7 separate regions of the Homo sapiens genome follow, and all the other regions are linked to region 1. Evidence: promoter capture Hi-C in human tissues and cell types (Jung and others, 2019). All regions are on one chromosome and are shown on one strand. The core of a region is centred on a gene start or on the middle of the fragment in contact, and the rest is flanking DNA. Distances in the headings are between cores, read along the strand shown.

Region 1 (3,111 bases), core at 1-2,500:
CTCCGGCCTCTTCTGTGGCGCGAGGGACAGCGGAAACCACGGTAGACAGCACCCCCTTGAGTCCAATTCCTCCCCTTTCGGAGGAAGCCGGTTTCTCCTTTCTATGCTACTCCCGGGCCATTTCTGGACAACAGCTGCTATTTTCACTTGAGCCGAAGTTAATTTCTCGGGGAGTTCTCGGGCGCGCACAGGCAGCTCGGTTTGCCCTGCGATTGAGCTGCGGGTCGCGGCCGGCGCCGGCCTCTCCAATGGCAAATGTGTGTGGCTGGAGGCGAGCGCGAGGCTTTCGGCAAAGGCAGTCGAGTGTTTGCAGACCGGGGCGAGTCCTGTGAAAGCAGATAAAAGAAAACATTTATTAACGTGTCATTACGAGGGGAGCGCCCGGCCGGGGCTGTCGCACTCCCCGCGGAACATTTGGCTCCCTCCAGCTCCGAGAGAGGAGAAGAAGAAAGCGGAAAAGAGGCAGATTCACGTCGTTTCCAGCCAAGTGGACCTGATCGATGGCCCTCCTGAATTTATCACGATATTTGATTTATTAGCGATGCCCCCTGGTTTGTGTGTTACGCACACACACGTGCACACAAGGCTCTGGCTCGCTTCCCTCCCTCGTTTCCAGCTCCTGGGCGAATCCCACATCTGTTTCAACTCTCCGCCGAGGGCGAGCAGGAGCGAGAGTGTGTCGAGTGAGTGTGCGTCTGTGTGTCCCGGCGAGGGTGCGCGCTCGGCGCCGGGAGCGCGGCCAGCCGAGTCCGGAGGCATCGGGAGGTCGAGAGCCGCCGGGACCCCAGCTCTGCGTTCACTGCCCCGTCCGGAGCTGGACTTCGGGGCCGGGGCCGGGGCCGTGCGCCGGGGACAGGCAGGGCCGGGTCGCGGGCCGCGCGTCCCCCAGGCCGGAGGTAAAAGCGCTAGCGCGCGGAGGGCTCGAGGAGGGCACCGCGGCTGGGCCCCCCGCGCCCCGGGCCCCAGCCGTCCGCGGCTCCCGGCCCGACGCTCCCCGCCCCGGAGCGCGCCCGCCTCCCCTGCGTGGAGGCCGGCGGGCAGGCGAGCGGGGGGCGGTAGCGCCGTGCCAAGGGGCTGGCTGGGGCAGCGTGGCCGGCCGGGCTGGGGCGATTTAAGAGCGGTCCGGGCGGGGTGCGGAGCCGGACTTTGGCTGGGGCGGCGCGCGGGGAGGGGGCCGGGGGCGGTGGCGGCGGCGTTGGGGGGCGGGGAGGAGGCAGGAGGAGGAGCAGCAGCGCTCGCCGGGGGATGCAGCAGCGGCAGCGGCGGCGGCGGCGGCGGCAGCGGCAGCGGCGGCGCGGAGTCCCCTGCGCCCAGCGGCCCGGCCGGGCTGCGGCAGAGGCGGCGGCGGCGCCCCGCTCCGGGTGAGGTTGCCGGGGCCGTGCGCGCTGGTGAGTGGGGCGTGGGGGGCAGGTGGGTGGCTGGGGGACGCGGGGCTCGGGCGGGGGCTCGCGGCGGCCGGAGCCTTCCCCGGCGTGAGCCCGGCCGCGAGCGCCGCCCAGGTGAGCCGGGGCTGGTCCGGACCGCCCGGCTCCAGCCCCAGCGCTGCTTGCGGAGGTGGGTCCGGGCGGGCGGGAGGGAGGCTCCGGCGCCGGCCGTCCGCAGAGGGATGACCTGTTTGACCCCGCTGGCTGGCGGGCGGGCGAGGACTTCCCGCCGCGCCCCTGACCCGCGGACACGGCACACCGAGCACAGGCGGCCCCGGGTAGGGGAGCGCGCCTGGGCCGGCCATCCGCAGGGGCATGGCCTTGTTGACCCTTAGGGTTTAGACCCAAGGGACCGGTAGATGCCAGCCCACGTGGGGCTTGTCCGGGCAGGACTCGGGGAAGCAGTGGGCCGGATCTTCAGAGTGGTTGGAAACTCGCAGACACCGAAAGGACAAACAGGATCGAAAAGGCAGACTTCCTCCCAGGCCAGGGCAGAACGAGTTTCCATCGCCTGGCGGAGGGATGCTCCCCTCCCCGGCTCCTCGGGGTTTCAGAAGTCTAGCGGTGAATTCTAGGAGTGCACTTTTCCAAACATTCCTTATAGTAGTTCGTTCATTCGTTCTACAAGCATTTCTGGAGCACCCCCTCGTGCCGGGCACCGCGTTCTGTTCCAGGGAAACGCGGCTGAACAGGATCTGGCTCCTGCGCGCCAGAAGCTGCCGGTTCACTGGGAGGGCAGCAGGGTAGAGAGATGCCGTCTCGGGGTGGAAGATGGAAAGGGAAGCCTGCAATCCTAGTTTGCACACTGGCCTCGGTCCGCAACTCCCCCACCTGCACGCAGTAGGCCCAGCACACAGTAGGAAGAGCAAGCCAGACCTGCCTGTGACGACCCTCTCCTCCTCCTCCTCCCCCTTGAAAGCTTTGATTCATTCCCTGCCCCCCTTTCTGGAAAGTCTTCCTGCAGCTTGTTTTAATCACTTTTTGAGTTAAAAGTCAATATTTAATTAACCAAGTAATTACATTCAGCTTACGTTTCAATCTGGGTATTTGCTCATCTGTGCGTGTTGGGACACCCGCCCTCTCGCCCCTCCATCTGTCCCCTGCCTGTTTCCCACCGGGTCCACCCCCACTTTTGGGGCAGAGAAGGGGAGGCTGCGCTGGAGCAGGTTCTCAGGGGGAGACAGGGAGCAGGAGAGACGGGCTTTCTCTGGAGGACACCCCCGGATCTGCGCGCTCTCCAAATTTCAGCTTGTAGTGAATAGTGAAGGTGATTTCTTGACAGCCTCTGCCTCCCATTACAGAACCACCAGAGGGTTCTAATTAAATTAGAGCCAATCGTTAAGTATAGGAACGGGGTAGGGAGGACAGAACGAAGGGGGCCCCTTCCCTGTAAGAGATGTTCTCCCCAGCTTCGTCTCTCCCACATCATAGAGAAGAGAAAACTCATCCAGACAGCCTGTCGGATGTGTAATTTAGCGTTCTAATAAGCAGCTTGAAAGGCGAAGGTGGTGGGCTTGGCAGATGGCATGTTGGACCTTTGTACATGAAGGCCTCTTCCTTCCCCAGCTAAATTTATATACATAAAGGCCGTGATGTTGGCATCACTGCTGCAGCTGAGGGTCAATGTGGGTTTGGGGTTTGGGCTTTGTGTGTACTTCTTGGGTTTTTTATTTGAATTTATGGCTTT
Region 2 (3,111 bases), core at 204-2,703, 470 kb before region 1:
CCCCATCCAGGCCCGGCTGAGTCATGGCTGAGTGACTTCCCAGGCTGGGGACATCTGAGGCTCTAAAGGTCCTAAGTCTCCCAGGCAGACACCGAGCTCTGGAATGGGGCCAGCCATCCCCAGCTGCCTAGAAGGACCTGGAAAACAGGCTGAGGCCTTGAATACAGAGGACCAGGGAGTTTGCTGGGAATTATGGGGAGGAAACACGGCTCAGGGAGTTTTACAGATCCTCTGACATCATGGGTGTCTGAGCTGGTGAGTTAAGACCAGCCTACAACACATGACCCACAGCTCCTGCCTACAGTGAACACACACACACGCGCACACGTGCTCATCGGAACACACATGTGCATAATACTACTGTGTAGTCATTTGTTCATTTGTTCTGCAAGCATTTCTGGAGCACCTCCTCGTGCCGGGTACTGCATTCTGTTCCAAGGAAACGTGGATGAACAGGACCCGGTTCCTAGGCACCAGCAGCTCCTGGTACTCTCAGACAACTGGGAAAAGAGATGGGGTCTGAAGTGGAAAGATATAAGAAGTCTGAAATCCTACTTTGCATGTTGGCCTCAGTCCAAAATTCCTCACCTGCTCAGAGACCAAAGACCACACCCCCTGCATGCAGTAGGCCCAGTACACAGTAGGAAGAGCAAGCCAGACCTGCCTGTGACAACCCTCTCTTCCTCCTCCCTCTTCTTGAAAGCTTTGATTCATTCCCTGCCCCGCTTCTGGACAGTCTTTCTGCAGCTTGTTTTAATCACTTTTTGAGTTAAAAGTCAGTATTTAATTAACCAAGTAATTACATTCAGCTTACGTTTCAATCTGGTGCAGGTTTGCTCCTCTGTGCAGGTTGGGACCCCTGCCCTCTTGCCCCTCCATCTGTCCCCTGTCTCTTTCCCACAGGGCCCACCCTCACCTTTGGGGCAGAGACTGGGAGGCTGTGCTGGAGCAGGTTCTCGGCGGGAGACAGGAAGCAGGTGAGACGGGCTTCCCTTGGAGACGCCCCTGTATTTCACTGGGTAGTAAAGGGGATTTCTTACTGCACCTCTGCCTCCCATTACAGAAACCCCAAAAGGTTCTAGTTAGATTAAAGCTAATCATTAAGTGGCAAAGGGGGTGAGGAAGACAGGATGAAGACATTTCACCCTGTAGAAGATGTTCTCCCCACTTTGCTTGTCCCATGTCATACAGAAGAGGAAACTCAACCTGACAGCCTGTCAGGCGTGTAGTCTAGAGTTCTAATAAGAAACTTGAAAGGTGAAGGTGGTGGGCTTGACCGATGGCACGTGGGACATTTGCACATTAAGGTCCCTTCCTTCCCTGGCCAAGTTTATGTACATAAAGTCATGATGTTGGCACCACTGCTGCACCTGAGATTTGGGTGGATAAGACTGTGAGTAGATGCACACACAAACACATACACACATTTTATTTGAACTTGAGACTTTTTCTGAAACTCTAATAACCTACTAAGTTTCCAAATGTATTGACTGATCCATGAATTGACTGTAAAATGCCCAGCTTGGAGGAGCACAAAGCGTCCATATGTGTGTCCTGTGTGTGTGCATTTGTGTGCACATCTGTGAGTCTATCTGCCCAGGATACAACTCACATTCAACCATCATCCCAAGGACCTGGTTAATGCGCAGCTGCAATTGCCAACCCAAAGGGATACCCATGATGCTTGGAATCTATCTGTTGATCCACTTATCGTTTGTAGGGCATTTTTGAAAATTATCCAAATAATATTACCCCATTCCATGTCCTTTTGTTTGAAGGCACCAGGAACGGCTGCTGTTGGGTGGGGAGTTTGTACCCAGTGTTAAGTGCCAAACATCCTGGAACGTTTCCCAAAGGATGGGGCAGGGGCCACTGATAAACAGAAGGATTAGAGAATCGGCTCCATGATTAAGGTAGTTCACATGAAATACCACCAAATCAGGCACTAAAAAGTTATCCCCTTTTCCACTTTCTGCCAGCCCTCCCAGAACCTCAGATAGAAAGATCCAGGTTGGGCCAGGCTTAGTGGCTCACTCTTGTAATCCCAGCAATTTGGGAGTCCGATCACCTGAGGTCAGGAGTTCTAGACCAGTCTGGCCAACATGGTAAAACCCCATCTCTACTAAAATACAAAAATTAGCCAGGCTTAGCGGTGTGTGCCTGTAATCCCAGCTACTCAGGAGGCTGAGGCAGGAGAATCACTTGAACCTGGGAGGTAGAGGTTGCAGTGAGCCAAGATGGCACCACTGCACTCCAGCTTGGGTGACAAAGCAAGACTCCGTCTCAAAAAAAAAGGTAAAAATGAAAGTTCCAGGTTGGTGCAAATAGGTCTTCACAGTGGCCTGAAAAGAGAGAGATGGAGAAACAGAGACAGAGAGAGAAGATGGGGCCAGGGGTAGTTTAAAAGGAATATTTTGTGGTTGGAAATTAGCAATATTGTTTTGTTTTGGCTTTTTAAATTTTTTTTTTTACTGTGAAATAACTTAGATCCACAGAGAGTGGCAAGGAACTGTTTAAGGAGGTCCTATGTACCCTTCACCCAGCCTCCCCCAATCATCACATCTTGCATCACTAAAGTACAATATGACAAGCTGGAAATTGACATAGGTGCAATCCACAGAGCTTATGTAGATTTCACCAGTTATGCAATTTTATCACATATGCGGTTTTGAGTAACCACCACCATAGTCAAGCTACAGAACTGTCCCGTCACTTCAAGGGTCCCTCTGCCTCCCTCTAGGACCACACTAGCCAGTCCCTAACCCCCTGCAACCTCTAACTGATCTCCATCTCTAGAATTTTTTAAATTTCAAAAATGTTATATAAAGGGAATCATACAGCATGTAACATTTTGGTGTTGGCTTATTCTTCTAGTAAGCATCATTCCCTTGATGTTCATTTTGGTTGCTGTGTGCAGCAATAATTTCTCCTTTTTATTGCTGACATATTCCACATTATGGATGTTCCAGGGTTTGTTTAATCATTCACCCATTGAAGGACATTGGTATAGTTTCCAGTGTGGGGCCATTATGAATAAAGTTGCTGTGAAATTTTCTGTAGAAGCTTTTACATGAACATATGTTTTATTTCTGTGGAATAAAGGCCTATAAG
Region 3 (3,111 bases), core at 243-2,742, 450 kb before region 1:
GACCTTGTTTTATATTCAGAGTCACTTGTGGTTGCTGCAGAGAGAGGCGAGTCCTTGCCCAGAGCCTCCACGTGAGCATCTCAGGCTCTGCCATATGGAATGTGCTGCTCCTCGGGGGTGAGGCATGGAGGAGGGAGGAAGTCCTTGCTCATCTTGGTTCTTACCCAGATTTACTTGTTTCTAGGCTGTTTTCTTTCCCCTCTCTGACTCGTCCCCCAATATTCTTCATTACATGAGTAATACAGTTGTTCTTTAAAGATTTAAATAACACAAAGCGCTTCATTCCCCACCCACCGCTAACACAGGCCAGTATCATGCTCAGGTTCTTCTGCATCCTCTGAGAACATTTTCCCCTCATTTACTCAATGACGCATAGATATTAGACATATATATGCATATTGAGAAAAAGCATAGGGTAAACTGAGTCATTACGCAGCAACAGGGTGCTCTTTAGAAGGTGGCACCAGAGAGGGCCTCTTGGAGGAGGTGACATCTGCAGAGCCTGGAGTGAGAGGATGAGCCAGGCAGATATCTGGGGAAGAGCAGCCTTGGCAGAGGGACCCGCAAGTGCAAAGACCCTGAGGCAGGAGGGTTCTCAAGGGGCTGGGGGAGCAGCACAGAGGCCCATGTGGCTGCAGCAGGGGAGTGAGGTGGGGAGTGGCAGGGGTGGAGGTTGAAGAGAGGATGAGGGGTCAGGCCATGGAGGGCCTTGCAGGCCATGGGGAAGACTTTGGCTTTTATTTTGCATGAGAGGGTGGGTCCCTAGAGGACTCTGAGTGATGGAATGTGATGAGCTGACTTGGGCTGAAAGGCCCACCCTGGCTCTGAATGGAGAACACAGGGTGGTGGCCGAGGGTGAAGCTGGAAGACCAGTTAGGAGACTACAATAGTCCAGGCAAGAGATGGCAATGGTTAGACACAGACTGAAGTCAAGACCCTGCATTTACTGACCCCAGCTTCATTCTTCTCACTGTGCCACCCTTCTTCTATTTCCCAAAGAGTTCCTGAAATCACGTAATCTAATTATTCACCTATAACTAAACCACACACACACACACACACACACACACACACACACACACACACCAGGACATCATCTCCTTCATTATCCACCCCACACGGTGCTCCTGTACTTCTCAGGAGAAGGGAAGCAGGTATTCGGTCAGATGCAGTGTGCGTCTGCTGCTGGCTGATGGATGTAGTCTCTTGCACAGAAGCCTCTGGACTGGAAAACTAAGCTTAACTTTGAATCTTCAAAGTATTAGACACCGTCTAAGTCCCAGGAAACATTGTTTGCTCTGAACTTTGGAATATGGAATTAATTCAGCATTTCCCTGGTGTGTTATGTGTCACACCAATAGTACATGGTACACCAGAGTGCATTATCTATTTCACTATTTCATCTTTAAAGTTTTAAAGAAACACCATATATAACTAATGCATGAAATCTACAATTTCACAGACAATATTGTTTGGTTTGAGGCTAAAATTTTTAAAGTGATCCATTTAAAAATAACATTAGTGAAATAATTGTACAGGTGGTGCAGTGAGATGACCCAAAACAACATTCATGAGGAGTGTGTGCATGGAGGGTGCTTAGGAAATGCTGAGTTTCTGGCAGGTGGTGGGGTGCGGTTTGGGCATTGAAATTTAAGTTCGTTGGGGTGTTCCCCCACTCTCAGCCCATCCCCCCAGCCCATCAGAGTCACAGAGAGAGGTGTTAGGGTGACCTCATCCTTGGCCCAGCTAGGTGGGAAGGTTTGGTCATGGAAAGAAATTGTGTCTGTTTTTTTCCACTTGTCCCCAGGCTAATGTCGGAGAAAACACGTTTTGGTTGGCTGGCTCGGCTGCATTTGAAATATTAAAAAACTGGCTTCTTTCGCCTTTCACAGTGACATCTTCCAGGTTCTCACCTCCCATCAGAGCTCTCTGTCTACATTAGGGCTGGGGCTGTGGGAGGAGATGAGATCATATATTTTTTTGTGTTAAAGATGTTGATGTATAAAGCTTGGTAGTCACAGTGTTTTTAATAAATCAGGTTAATGTTCCAGGGGGAAGCTTACCACTTGCTATTTATGCACAAATGCCTCTATCACTTAAGAAGCTTGTTAAAATGGTAGTTTAAGAGTAAATTAACAAAGCGCTTCACAGCTGGTGTGTTTGGGCAGGGTGAGCACACCTAACAAGGACATACACACAGAGGGGAGCCGACGGCAAGAACACCCAACAGCTAATTGCCTCCAAAATTAGTAGGATGGAAAAGCAAATGCTTCAAGACCCTGGTTCTGAGCAGATTAAAAATAAGAAACAGTTCTGCAGGCTGTTTGCTTTTTGCCAATGCAGCATTTGGGGCTGCTGACTGCAGGTGAATTATTCACCAGGTGGCAGCTTCCCCTGCATTTCTGAAGAGAGGTCTGACAGGTTGAGTGGAGAGCCAGCTTTCATCCTTTTTACTACTGAGACAATTTTTGAAGAAGGAGTGAGGCTGGGTTCTCATTTCCTCTCCTTTGTCTTTCTTCCTCATTGTAAACAGTGTCCTTGCTATGTCCCGGATTCATGCCTGCAACAAGTATTTCTGAGCATTCACCGTAGGCTAGTATCTTAGTCCGCCTGTGCAGCTAGGACAGCATACCACAGACTGGGTAATTTATAAACAATAGAAATGTATTTCTCACAGTTCTGGAGGCTGAGAAGTCCAAGGTCAAGGCACTGCAGCGCTGGTGTCTGCTCAAGGCATCTCTCTGCTTCCAAGATGGTGCCTTGTTGCCGTCTGGCTGGCCCAGAGAGTAGGAACACTGTGTCCTCAATGAAAGACACGAGAATGCCCCCTTCAATTGCGAGCCCTTTTATAAGGGTGCTTATTCCATTCATGAGCGGGGAGCCCTCATGACTTAATCTCCTCCCAAAAGCCACACTGCTTATATTGTTGCAATGGGGACTAAGTCTCAATGTGAATTTTGGAGGGGATGCCACCGTTCAAACCATAGCAGCAGCCAGGGCAAAATGGTGAGACCCTGTCTCTACAAAGCATTTAAAAACTAGTCAGATGTGGTGACTCATACCTGTAGTCCAAGCTACTCGGGAGGCTGAGTGGGGAGGATTACTTGAGCT
Region 4 (3,111 bases), core at 156-2,655, 440 kb before region 1:
CCAGAGGCAGCCCCTCAGTCTTGGACTTCCCAGCCTCCAGAGTGGTGATCTGTGAGCCAAATACATCTCTTTTCTTTTTTCTTTTTTTTCTTCTTGAGACAGGGTCTTGCTCTGTTGCCCAGGCTGGAGTGCAGTGGCATGATCTCGGCTCACTGCAGCCTCAACCTCCTAGGCTCAGGCAATCCTCCCATCTCAGCCTTCCGAGTAGCTCGGACTACAGGCACATGCCACCACACCCAGCTAATTTTTTTTTTTTTTTTTTTTTTTTTGTAGAGAAAGGGTTTTTCCATGTTGCCCAGGTTGGTCTCAAAGTTCTGAGCTCAAGTGATCCACCTGTGTCCGCTCCACAACATGCTGGAACTACAGGTATGAGCTACTGTGCCTGGCCTCTTTTCTATTAAATCACCCAATCTGTAGTATTCTGTAATAACAGCAGAAAACAGATGAAGACAATCCCCAAACGAGGCTCTAAGCTCTTTCTTCACTGCACATAGTAAGCATTTTCTAAACAGGCAATGAATGAATGAGCTCTGCCTCCTGGGCACAGCACCTTGATTGTCCTTTGGGAAACCTCCATCCTCCACTCTTGGTTCATGTGCTGTAGGTGGGTGGGCCCCACACCCAGCTCCATGCAAGGGACAAGATCCAGGTCTGTGAACTGGCATATTCAGAATCACCAGGTACAGACTTATGTCCTGGCACAGGCTGCTTCTCCTGAAAGGAAGGGGCATCCCTTTCTTACTCGTACCAAGTCACCTGAGGGAGTGGCCCTGGCTGTGAGCAAATCCTGCCACCTTGACCCCAGTGTTTAGATCAGAGATGGACACATGGCAAGTCGCGTCCAATCAGGTGAATCCTGCGAAGTCCTCAGGGGCCGCCAGGAAGAGAAGGTCTTTCCCTGGGGCTGCTGAGCTGGTAGGTGGAATCTCTCCACAAGCAAAGGAAGAGGAGACAGCAGCCCTGGAGGGGTGGGAGAAAGTGTCTGGGTCCCTAGATCAAGCTCTACCTGACACTGGACTAACCCTCAAAGCTTTTCAGTTCTTTGAGTCCATTATTCCTTTTCCTTTTTTTTTTTTTTTTTTTTTTTTTGAGATGGAGTCTCACTCTGTAACCCAGGCTGGAGTGCAATGACATGATCTTGGCTCATTGCAGCCCCCACCCCTAGGTTCAAGCGATTCTCCTGCCTTGGCCTCCCGAGTAGCTGGGATTACAGCTGCACACCACCATGCCAAGCTAATTTTTGTATTTTTGGTAGAGACAGGGTTTTGCCACATTGACCAAGCTGGTCTTGAACTCCTAACCTCAAGTGATCCACCCTCCTCGGCCTCCCAAAGCTATCTATTCCCTTTTTGCTTAAGTCTGTTGGGGTTGGATTTTCTGTCCTTGCAACTTTAGGACCCCATCTGACTCAGGGTTCAGGAAATGCTACCCTACAGGACAGCCAGGAGCAAATGTGCTTTACTATGTTTAAACACTTGAGGTCCATGAAGGGCTGCTGGGGCTGCTGTGGGCTCTGACCTCATCACCTCCTTCCTTCGTCCAGGGCTGCTCCCTACAGGAGTCTGTTCCCCTCAGCGCAGCCTCTGCCTCTCCTCGAAGTGGGTTTCAACACTCACAGCTCCTTCCCTCTCACTTGAGTGATTTTCTCCTTTCCCATTTTTCATCTTGAAAAATGGCAAATTGAAGCACTTAATTTTCCTCCTCCAGCCCAATTAATGTGGACATGCTCAGTGCTGATGGGCGTGCTTGTGAAAGGAAAGTCATTTATATAAATCAGCAGAATAAACATGAGCTTTATGGCCCTCTGCAAACTCCAGGTGGAAGCTTCCTCAGAGAAGGAGAAGGGAGACCCCACGGGAAGGCCCAGGGGCAAATACCCCATTGGATGCATCTGGGAAGTCTGGAGTTTAGGGGCCATTAGGACTGTGTCGTGGTGGCATTTTGGAGAGGGCACAGGTCCAACCACCTCTCCTTCCTGTGAGGTCGCTCAGTGAATATGTCCCAGGAACAAGAGAATTACCAGACATGGCTATACCTCAGTGTCAGCAGGGGCTCTGTTCCTAAGCCTTAACGTAGAGTCCATCCAGCCAAGCAGGAATGCCGAGCCTATCTCCAAAGTGTGCCTGAGCCCCCCAGATGCCTCACTGGACAGAGCCCCTCATCCATCTTGGCCTCCTGGATAGTCACAGCAGCTTCATCCGTGGTCTCTGCTGTCCAATCAGGCTTCCCTCCATCCATGCTCATCCCGGCAGCTGAAATGAGCGTTTAAAAATGTAAATCAAATCATGTGATCCTCCTGCTCGGAAATTCTCAATGGCTCCCTATTGCCCTTGGAAGAAAATCCAAGCTCCCTTTCATGGCTTCCAATATCTTGCATAACCTGGCCCCTGGCAGCCTCTCAGACTCTCCCCTGGCTCCCTCAACCACAGGGGCCTCCTTGCTGTTCTTCCAGCTCCCCTTGCTCACTCCTGCCCCGAGACCTAGGCACTCGCTGTTTCCCACATCTTCTTCTGGTGGCTGTGTCTCATCCTTCATGTCTCAGCTCCAACAGCTCCCCTGCACCCAATCCTGGTACCTGTCCTCAGCTGCTGTTTATCTCTTTTAGACCCTTTCAAACCTAAATATGTAGCCAGCACCCACGGTAGACCAGCCCCAGCTCCGTGTGCTCAGTGTCCAGAGTGAGCAGGACACACAATAACCCCTGTCTTCCCAGCCCGGTCCTGGGAACTCTGCAGACAGATGAGATGCAGAAGACCTCCATTGCCTGAATGAACTTCCAGGTTCTGAGGACCCAGTTTATCCCAATGAGGGGCTTACAGAATGAGGCGTGGGTCGATCATGTAGAGAAACGATGCTCACAGAAATTAGGTGAAACATAGAGACGTGAGGCCTGGAGCCGTTAGCAAATGCCATTAGCGTTGGGTCCTCAGCAAGCCTGGGCCTCGTTGACACACCATGCCCATGAGTGTATGTTGGACAGAGGCAGGCCCTTAGGTGGGCACCAAGAACATGCTGAGGAAAGGTTTTTGCTGTTGGTGTTTGATTTTTTTTTTTTTTTTTGAGACAGAGTTTCACTGTTGTCACCCAGGCGGGAGTACAATGGCACGATCT
Region 5 (3,111 bases), core at 311-2,810, 360 kb before region 1:
TTTTTGAGATCAGCTGAGAACTTCCTCCTCCAGGAAGTCCTCTTGGATTGATCTCTCCCTACAGTGATGCCATCTTTCTATAACAGAGTTACTTAGTGCAGTGTAATTGTTTACATGTGGGTAATTGTTTGCTGTTTGATATTCTTAGGTTATTTTATCGAAGAATGTTCTGCCTTGTGAGCTTTCCCCCAAATCAGGGATAAATCAATTTCTTCCTTTAGCAGTAGAGCCTCACCTTCTGCAATGTCATTCGTGCCATGGAAATTAAAGAACAAGCAAAACAGCAGCAGCTAGCACCTTCTGGGCTCTTCATTACATGCCAGGAAATACGCCAAGCCTCTTACCTGCTTTTCTCACCTCAGTCCTGGGAGGCAGGTGCAAGGGTCTTCACTGCTTTCTAGATGAAGAAACTGAGACACAGAGAGGCCCAGTAACTTGCTCAAGACCACAGATTAGTGAGTGGCACAGTCAAAATTACTCTTAAAAATTCCCTTAAGTACTCATAAGGTCCAGTATATATGGTCGAGTGAGCTGACTTTAAAACTTTATTCAACTCTAATGCGTAGCATGAAATGTATCTTTCACTGTGATCCGGTACACACTCGTGCATAGACACACGCACATGTGGACAGACACACACACGTGATGGAATTGACAAGCCTCTTAAAGCAATATTTATTTTATGATGTGTAAAATATCCTATTGTCTTCTCCCCTATTCCGTCCTGTTGGGAAAAATTCTGACCCACTGATTTTGTTTCTTAACCTATTAACAGCTCACAACCCTCTGATGGTGTGATGGTTAATAAGTGTTAACTCGATTGGATTGAAGGATGCAAAATATTGTTCCTGGGTGTGTCTGTGAGGATGTTGCCAAAGGAGATTAACATTTGAGGCAGTGGACTGGGAGAGGCAGACCCACCCTCAATCTGGGTGGGCACCATCTAATCAGCTGCCAGCACGGCTAGAATAAAAGCAGGCAGAGGAGCATGGAAGGAGTAGACTGGCAGAGTGTTCTGGCCTCCACCTTTCTGCTGTGCTAGATGCTTCCTGCCCTCGAACATCAGACTCCAAGTTCTTCAGCTTTTGGACTCTTGAACTTATACCAGTGGTTTGCCAGGGACTCTCGGGCCACAGACTGAAGGCTGCACTGTTGGCTCCCCTACTTTTGAGCTTTTGGGACTCAGACTGGCTTCCTTGTCCCTCAGCTTGCAGATGGCCTATTGTGGGACTTCACCTTGCGCTCTTGTGAATCAATTCTCCCGATAAACTCCCCTTCATACATACATATATCCTAATAGTTCTGTCCCTTTAGGGAACCCTGACTAATAGAGATAGGTTGTGATAGAGTTTGAAGATCACTAGTGTGAAGCACACCACACAAACACATAGAGAAGATGCTGTACATTTCCCTAAACTTTTGTAAGTAAGATACTAACATTTACCTGGGGCTTATTCAGTGCTAGGCACTTTGGTCAGAACTTTTCAACTGTTAACTTCATTCCCTATGGAATATTAGGTTGAATCATATGAAATTGCCTATGGTTGACAATTTCCTGTGGGGAATAGCAATTTCATATAGCTGAACTTAATATTTATCTTCATGATAATTCCATTTTGTATACACACACACACACACACACACACAAACAAAACAAACAAACAAAACCAGAGAGATTAATTAACCTGCTCAGTGTTGCACAGCACCATGTGAGGTTGCTGCATCTAACTCCCAGGCAGCCTGGCTCCAGCCCATAACCATAGATCCTCCTAACCACTGGGTAGCCAAGGCTCTTTAGCCAATGATTCCTCAAGGACACTGAGGAAGCTTGCAGGGGCCACTTGAATGAGCAGTATCTCCCCCCTGTTTTATGCCTGGGAAGGCCGTTCGAATCATTCTCACATTCTTTCTATAGGTTTTCCAAGCTTTCTGGGCTTTTAGACATCATGGCATTCAGTGCCCAAGGCCTCCCTCTAAGGAGCCCAAAGACTAGCTGAATTCCTGCCCTGTGTCAAGCCCATCTCTGCATCTCATCATCCCCCTCAATGTGAGGTGGAATTTGTTGGTGAGTTAAATGCAGTGTGGCACAGATTACCCACTGTTTCCTCCCAGGACGCATACCTGGGATGCATTTGCTGACCATCAGTTTAAAAACGTAGTCAGAGACGTAGTCAGGGGCCCACTGAAAGGTCAAATGACAGTCTGGACTAGAAGTATTTTTTTTCATATCTAATAACTTAATGAAAAGCAATGAGTTGGAAGAGGTGTTAGAGTCCCCATCGTCCAACTGCCCCGCTAGCCCTGACATCTGCAATTCTGCATCAGAACGTCCCTGACATTTGATGAGCTGCCCTTGTCATAAAACCATCTAGTTACTGTGCCTTTGGATCTAGGGCATCATCCATCTGCTTCTGGAAATTTCAATTACGTTATGTAAGCCGTGAGGTGCTTGCTTACAATTTATTCACCTTTCCAGAATTTTCATTTCCTCTTACCCATGATGGGCCCGCAGGTTCCAGCCAACCAGTTGCCACCCTGCTCTGCTCTGGAGACATGGCATCAGCAGCCTCCATCTCTTTGAAAAACGGTAGGGTAGCACCTGATGTTGGCTCGGGATCTAAAATTACTAATCAAGGCCAACATCAGATGTAGAAACAGCTGAAGATGTTCATACCCCAGGATCATCCTCAATATGGCTAAATGAACATATTTGAGTGGCCCTTGGCAACGGAGACACAATGACAGAATCGCAGCTCCATCTGCCACCACCCCCTCCCACCGGCAGGTGCCCAAAGAGGGGCATGCCCTGGCTGGATTATTTACATACATTTACATATTCTATGTTTCATTATTAGCATACATTTACTATCCTTTTTGTTATAAAACTAAAGATAATCTTCCCACGTTTTATTTTCTGTCAAGTGTATTCCGTTGTATTTACGTCTGATGCAACTCCACTGTAATCCTAACAATAAAGCTATCTGCTCTTGAGGGCACTCTGAGAGGTTTGAAAGAGCACTAGCTGACAATGAAAAGCCTGCCTGCTGGAGCCATCTCTTTCATTTACTGACTCTGTGACTTTGGAGAAGTCATCTAATATTTCCGAGCCAT
Region 6 (3,111 bases), core at 188-2,687, 340 kb before region 1:
CAGAATTAAGTGTGATTGTGAAAAAAAAAAAAAAGTCTGAACTATAAAGAAGCTATTGGGGAACAGTTGTAAAGTTGTAAAGTTAGATCATGATGTTAAAGCCCACCCACCTAAGACTGCCAGGAACTTCCCTGCAGTCACAGTCAGTTTATTTAGCTTGCTGCAGTCAGGGAGATTCCCACGCCCATGGCCACCTGGGGGCATCTCAGTAAGGGGGAAGGGGCAGTGCTTTTTAGAGGACCTAGGCTTCTACAGAATGGTTCCAAAAAGGGATTAAGGAGGCAAGGTCAAGAAGTGAGGGCAACTTGGTGATTGCGTATCTTAAATACTTTATCTCAGGAGTGGGAAGCTTGAAGCAGGCTAGAGTTGTCACTGGTAAAGAGGCAGCTGTCACTCATGTTAGAAAAGGGGCATGTTCAGTCATTTCTGTGGCTGCAGAGTGGTCTTATCCCTGCCTACCTCTAAACACAGTCAACTTGTGGCCTTGTCTGAACGAGTTCATATTCTTTGAGTGTGGTTCATGTCGACTCAGGAGCATCATGGCCTGGAGGGTTGTGTTTCTCAGTTCCCTCCATAGTCTAGATGCAAACAGGACTGTTTTTTTTTTTTTTCTCCCTTACCAATGATCATATTATGGAAGGCCTTGGTTTTCACCCTGAGAAGGTTTGTATATAACTTGGCAGATGAGACAGAGTTATCAAAGATAGTTGGGTGCTGGAGTAATCAAGTTAGAATTGTACTTGAGAGATCAGGTATCTGTCAGTCTTTTGAAAGAGAAAGGACAGGAGGTAGGGTATTAAGGGCAATTATGGTCCAGGCTAGAGAAGGTGCAATGCCAATGAAGGTACCAGGCATAGGAAGAAAACAAGCTGACCAATAGAGGAGGCATCTGAGGGAGGGAACAACAGGCTGTCCCCTGGATTGGATGCTGGCGGTGGAAGAAGATAAAGTAGGAGGTGCTGATGTTTGCTCACCCAACAGCTGTCCCCACCCTACTTGCTAACAGGATTTTTTTCTAGGCAAAATGGAAATGGATCACAATTGGTCAAAACCAGCCTTGGCTATGCCAGTCACCTTTGCCAGATACTTCCCAGCTCCCTTTACAGTGAGGACTTCCCTATGACTCATTCTGGCCCAAAAGACCGAAGAGGATTGTGACAGGTCTCCTAAGAAAGGTTTTCATTTCTTATAAAAATAACAGGTGTAAAGAGGGTGTTCCTTTGAATTGCCCCTATTTCGTTGTTTTGGCTTTGATCCTAAACTGGAAGCATTGAAGCCAAGCCTTTGATTAGCTCCCATTTTCTACAATAGGAAATTGGAATACGTAATGCCCAGATCTGCACCCCACCCCCCAGTCTTTTCCTAAAAACACTGGTATTTTCTTTCCTAAAAACACTGGTATTTTCTTTTCCTATCTTTTGAGATGGAGGTATTGCTCGTGTCTGGGTGAATTGCTTATGCCAATGAGATGTTCGTAGACACGGCACAGGCAGAAGCCTGGAATGTGTCGGCACTGCCAGGCCTGCCCTCTAATGCTCTTGATTTTTCCCACGAGACGAGCGTGCCCCAGGGAACTTTGGCTCCAGCTGCAGGATGAGAGGCATGTGGAGCACGCAGGGTTCCAACCCTCAGCCTGGAGTCAAGCCCAGACTAGATCAGCCTAAGCCCAGCCAAGCCACGGGTGCAGGAGTGAAAAGCAAATGCTAACTGTCCATGACATTGACTTTCAAAGGGGCGTGTCATGTTATGTGGCTCATCCCAGCAACAATGAAGATATTTCTCTATCAGTCAGTCGGTAAATAATTATTGACAATGTGCAAGGAAGCTGGAGTGATTGGAGTAGATTTGGTCACTATTCTTATGGAGCTTATTTTCTAGAGGGGAAGACATATGATGGATCAATAAATATAAATTATTCTATTAGGTTGGTGCAGCAGTAATTCCAGCACTTTTTTGCCAGTAAAGGTAATGGCAATCAAAAGTGGGGAGGAGCCGGCGCTGCAGTTCATTGAAAGTAATGACAAAAACTGCGATGACTTCTGCACCAACCTAATAGAATAAATTACGAGTGCGCAAAACGCTGTGATGGGAAAGTTCCAAGTGCCAGGACAGCATCTAGCTTCCTGGACTCAGGAGATGGGGGTTTTCAACCTAAGCAAGGTTAAGTCCAAGTGGTGGGGGCAGGCGGGGGGGCGATATTTCAGTGGAGACTCCAAGGATGAATGGAAATTAGAAAAGTGAACGCAGATGGTGAGGGGGGAGGGGTTTCAGGCACAGAGAACAGCATGTGCAAAGGCCTAGCGGGGAGGACATCGTGTGTTCTGGATGTCCTCCCCGCTGAGGGGCGGGGACTGAGGGGCAGCCAGCAGGCTGGAGCTGAGCGGGTGGAGAGGAGGATGGGGAGCCGGGCAAAGGCGCTCCACGCAGGGGGCACAGCAGGGGCAAAGGCCCGGAGTCAGGCCTGAGCCTGTGTGGTTTCAGGAAGTGACAGAGGCCTGTCTGGGAGGAAAGTAACAGCAGAGGGGAGACCATAAGGTCAGGGCAGAGGGCAGGGCCGTGCTGGGCACTGTGGGCTGTGGATAGGACCTGGCATTTATGCTCGGGTGAGGGGAACATGTTAGAAGATTTTAAGGAGGGCAGGAACATCTGGGGATAACGTGTATTCTAGAATCTCAACCAAGTAAATTCTAGTTTGAATGTTCACAAGACTTCTGCACAGGCAAAGTGAAAGATCGTTTCTAGAGCTGTGAGATAAAATCATAGTAAAAGAGAGTTACTAAGTTTTTAAAGGTTATTTCAAATGGTGGATTTCCACCTTACAATTGAATATAAGTAGATTGTAAGGTTGATGGAAAGTAGAAAAGTTTCCTGACTTGTGTGAATATAAAAGAAACATCAGTTTGAAAGAAAACATTTATTTATTTACTTCCTCTGCAGTTTTCCTGACTGCTACATTTCATGAGAAGGGATTATTCTTGAGGGTTCTGGAGCTGCAGCCCAGGGGAGGAGCCAGTGCTGCCACTGACACCTCAGGGTCGTGGAGGTGAAAATCCCAGAGGAACAGGTGCTCCTGTTGCAGTTTGAGGTTCCTGGAGCTGGAGACGCAGGGAG
Region 7 (3,111 bases), core at 400-2,899, 320 kb before region 1:
TCCGAGTACGGGCTGGGAAACCTGCCAGGGGCTATGAAATGCATCACGTTTGCCCCAAGGTCACAGAACAAATTGGTCATAGAGTCAAGACTTGAATGTGAGTTGCCCAATTCCAGGGCTCTATTTCGTGCCCGTTGGGGCCAGGGGGTGCAACTATACTCTGCCCCTGTGCGCTCTTCCGTGAGGCTCCTGTCACCACTGGAAGGAGGGCTGGACATAGGCTGACTATACGATTCACAGTTCCCAAACTAGACCCCCTTTGAGTATGAATGGGGAGGTACTATTAATAATTATTCTAGAACACAGGGACTGTCTCAGGTAAACTGGAACTTGTGGTCCCCTTAACTGGATGCCACATTTGCCCAGGACCTTACGTAAGACAGAGACAACTTCCATTGTCTGTGACAGAGAATGAAACCAATGGGCTGATGACCCAAGAGAGTAGAAACCTGGCCACCACATTGCCCAGCTCTGTGACCCAGGCAGCTTATTCACTTCCTTTGTGCCTCAGTGGCCTAATTTGTCAAGTGGTGATGACACTAATAATTCTACTTCCAGGTTTCTCTAAAGATGCAGTGAGATGATGGCTGGGGAGCTCCTCTATCTGCGCCTGGCAGGTTGTGAGCACCTTAAAAGGACTGGCTTTCATCGTCACTTCCAGGGATGACATGGCCGCGCCACTTCCAGCAATTCTGGACCTTGCCCTGTGGAGCCTGAACAAGCACTTTGTAGGATGCACTGCACGGATACCAAAGAGGAGCATCTATGTCCTCCTGGAAATTTGAGTCTGGCTGGAGAGACAAAAGACGGGAATTCTCAATCAGGGAGAATTGAGCAGGGGAGTGAGAAGGGTTCGCTGCAGATGGGTGGAGAGCAATCAGCAAATTCCAGGACTAGAGGAGCACGGGTTGCATAAAGCTTCTATTGCTGCTGTCACAAATCACCACTAACTTTGTGGTTTAAACAACATCAAGGTATTACCTCATAATTCTGGGGTTCAGAAGTCTGAGATGGGCCTCACTGGGCTAAAATGGAAGGGTTAGCAGGGCTGCATTCCTTCCAGAGGCTCTAAGGAAGAATGTGTTTCCCTGCCTAGCTCAGCTTCTAGGAGCCACCCACATTCCTTGGCTCATGGCCCCCTCCCTCCATATGTCAGTCATGTCAGGACAAGTTCTTCTCATGGTGCCAGCTCTCTGGTGCTACCTCCCTTATCTATTTATAAGGACTCTCGTGATTACCTCGGTCCCACCCAGATAATCCACAATCATCTCCCTATTTTAAAGCTAGCTGATACACCACCTGAATTCCATCTACAACGTTACCTCCTGTTTGCCATGTAACCTGGAATATCCACAGGTTCCAAGGATACAGATGAGACCGTCTTGTGGGGCAGTTATTATTCTGTTTACCATGGAGGTCATTGAAACTGAATAGCCTCTTCCATCCTGCAGTGTGAACGCTGAGGCCCTGGAAGAGGCAAGGAATTGCCTGCGGTGCTATCGCTGGTCATTGATGGTGATTAGATCCCTGCCCCCCAACAAACCCTGTCTCCCAGGCCAGGGCTTTTCAGTTCCAGAAAATGTTGTGTAATATATTTTGCAGTTGAGGTATTTAGAGGGAGGTTCTCCATGAGAGGCAGTGTCATGACTGCTGTGGAAAGTACCTGGTGCGTTTTCTCAAGCTGCTCGGCCTGGAGTCTCTCCTTTTAGTAATAAAGGGTAAAATTAAACCCAGTGACTTTCTCTGTTGCTGGAAGTCACATCAAGTTCAGCAGGAATCGTTGCAGAAGCACCCTTCGCAAATCACAGATTCATTACTAAACATATTTCAAAATAAATGTCCGTTTTCCAGCCCTAGAATAGAAAATCAATACCACAGTCGTGCTCAGGCAGATGGCTGATTTAGGAGCTGACTTCGTCACATTCCCTCATCAAAAAGGTCACTCAGGAACCTCCATCATAAGCACACCCCCTCTCCAACACAAGCCGGAGAGGGATGAGAAGGCGGTAATTTATACATGTAATTATTCTCATGCGGTGAACAGATGGGAGATTTTCTCCAGGGAACATGGTGTACAACATCCCATTTCTCATGGGGGCAGTGTGGACAGTTCCAATTAGCCAACTTCCCTCGAACCGGCTCCCAGCAGAACTCAGAGGAGGGAAAGGAAAGAGAAAAATGATCAAGGCTTGCATTAGCTTCTGTCGTAGCGCGGTGCCTATTTGAAAGCTTAATGTTCTCGCCACAGTCAGAAGCAATGTTCTTGGGTTTTTAGAGTCAAAAAGAATCTGCAAATTGTGCTCATGTCAACTACAGTCCACAATGGCCTGGCCTGTCCTCTGCTAGGAGGCAATTGTGATGGGCCCTTGACAGGCTTCTCGACCTTGTAGTGGGAGCACAGGCATCAGTTCTGACCTTGAGGACTGTACGGTATAACTGGGAGAGATGAGTTATCTCCCTCCCAGTTAACAGGAGAACTTTCCATGAGCATTCAGTGACCACTTACTCAGGCTACCTGGGGCTTCCATGGGAGCACGGTGTAGAGGAGAGGGCAGGCAAGTGGAACAAACCCAGATTCACATTCCTGCTGAGTCTCATAGTTAACCATGACCTTGGCAAGTCAGTACTGCCCTCTGAGCCTCAATTTCCCTGACCTACCAAGATACTCTGTCTGCAGCACCATGGCAGGGTTTCGAGCTGAAATAGGTAAATCATTTCATTAGATTCTTTTCTTCTCTTCCTTTTTCACTTTAGTTTCTCAGAAGGGGACAGGCAGCCTATGCCCTAGGGATAAAGAGGGAAGGATGCAGTGGTGTGCAGTGTGAGTTGATCCTTAAAGAAAGGTGTGGCAGACACTGCTAGTTGCCCAGTATCCTCTTCTTTCTTCTAACCAAAGGACTCTGGCTTTGTTCGAGGTGGCAAAGTGCCCAGCTAAGGCATTCACTTTCCCAGCCTCCCTTGCAGCTAACAGTGGTCACATGGCCCAGTTCCAGCTAATAAGATGTAAATAGAAAGCTGCAGGAGGGTTCCTGAGAATGCCTTCCTACCCCAACTCCCTTCTCTCTCTTTCCTGCCTGGAGGTGAAGCAGCCATTTTAGAACTAGACAGCAG

The links. Contacts are between HindIII fragments. The study calls those that stand out against the background at their distance.
Region 2: a contact is called between a fragment that was not itself captured here and the fragment with the promoter of SULF2 in region 1, in 8 of the 25 tissues and cell types used here (H1 embryonic stem cells, bladder, dorsolateral prefrontal cortex and 5 more).
Region 3: a contact is called between a fragment that was not itself captured here and the fragment with the promoter of SULF2 in region 1, in 7 of the 25 tissues and cell types used here (bladder, dorsolateral prefrontal cortex, heart right ventricle and 4 more).
Region 4: a contact is called between a fragment that was not itself captured here and the fragment with the promoter of SULF2 in region 1, in 8 of the 25 tissues and cell types used here (H1 embryonic stem cells, adrenal gland, dorsolateral prefrontal cortex and 5 more).
Region 5: a contact is called between a fragment that was not itself captured here and the fragment with the promoter of SULF2 in region 1, in 6 of the 25 tissues and cell types used here (H1 embryonic stem cells, heart left ventricle, liver and 3 more).
Region 6: a fragment that was not itself captured here is called in contact with the fragment with the promoter of SULF2 in region 1 in 2 of the 25 tissues and cell types used here (H1 embryonic stem cells and dorsolateral prefrontal cortex).
Region 7: a contact is called between a fragment that was not itself captured here and the fragment with the promoter of SULF2 in region 1, in 8 of the 25 tissues and cell types used here (H1 embryonic stem cells, dorsolateral prefrontal cortex, heart left ventricle and 5 more).

The regions. Positions count from the first base shown.
Region 1 is chr20:47,783,620-47,786,730 of GRCh38, reverse strand. SULF2 (sulfatase 2) reads left to right here and starts at 1,250. Exons shown (of 21, transcript NM_001387048.1): 1 at 1,250-1,388. LOC124904920 (a long non-coding RNA gene) reads right to left here and starts at 977. Exons shown (of 2, transcript XR_007067618.1): 1 at 569-977; 2 at 1-326. RefSeq lists an enhancer at 1-132. The HindIII fragment of the contact is 5,454 bases long and covers 1-2,878 here.
Region 2 is chr20:48,257,463-48,260,573 of GRCh38, reverse strand. No RefSeq gene overlaps it. Among named protein-coding and RNA genes, the nearest start is that of LINC00494, 100 kb to the left of the region's middle. RefSeq lists an enhancer at 1-489. The HindIII fragment of the contact is 6,360 bases long and covers 1-3,111 here.
Region 3 is chr20:48,235,469-48,238,579 of GRCh38, reverse strand. No RefSeq gene overlaps it. Among named protein-coding and RNA genes, the nearest start is that of LINC00494, 120 kb to the left of the region's middle. The HindIII fragment of the contact is 4,304 bases long and covers 1-3,111 here.
Region 4 is chr20:48,218,885-48,221,995 of GRCh38, reverse strand. No RefSeq gene overlaps it. Among named protein-coding and RNA genes, the nearest start is that of LINC00494, 140 kb to the left of the region's middle. The HindIII fragment of the contact is 4,439 bases long and covers 1-3,111 here.
Region 5 is chr20:48,143,436-48,146,546 of GRCh38, reverse strand. No RefSeq gene overlaps it. Among named protein-coding and RNA genes, the nearest start is that of LINC01522, 150 kb to the right of the region's middle. The HindIII fragment of the contact is 6,424 bases long and covers 1-3,111 here.
Region 6 is chr20:48,126,603-48,129,713 of GRCh38, reverse strand. It overlaps LOC105372640 (a long non-coding RNA gene), which reads right to left. Exons shown (of 2, transcript XR_936803.2): 2 at 2,900-3,111. Among named protein-coding and RNA genes, the nearest start is that of LINC01522, 140 kb to the right of the region's middle. RefSeq lists an enhancer at 2,855-3,111. The HindIII fragment of the contact is 6,415 bases long and covers 1-3,111 here.
Region 7 is chr20:48,104,636-48,107,746 of GRCh38, reverse strand. No RefSeq gene overlaps it. Among named protein-coding and RNA genes, the nearest start is that of LINC01522, 120 kb to the right of the region's middle. The HindIII fragment of the contact is 5,044 bases long and covers 1-3,111 here.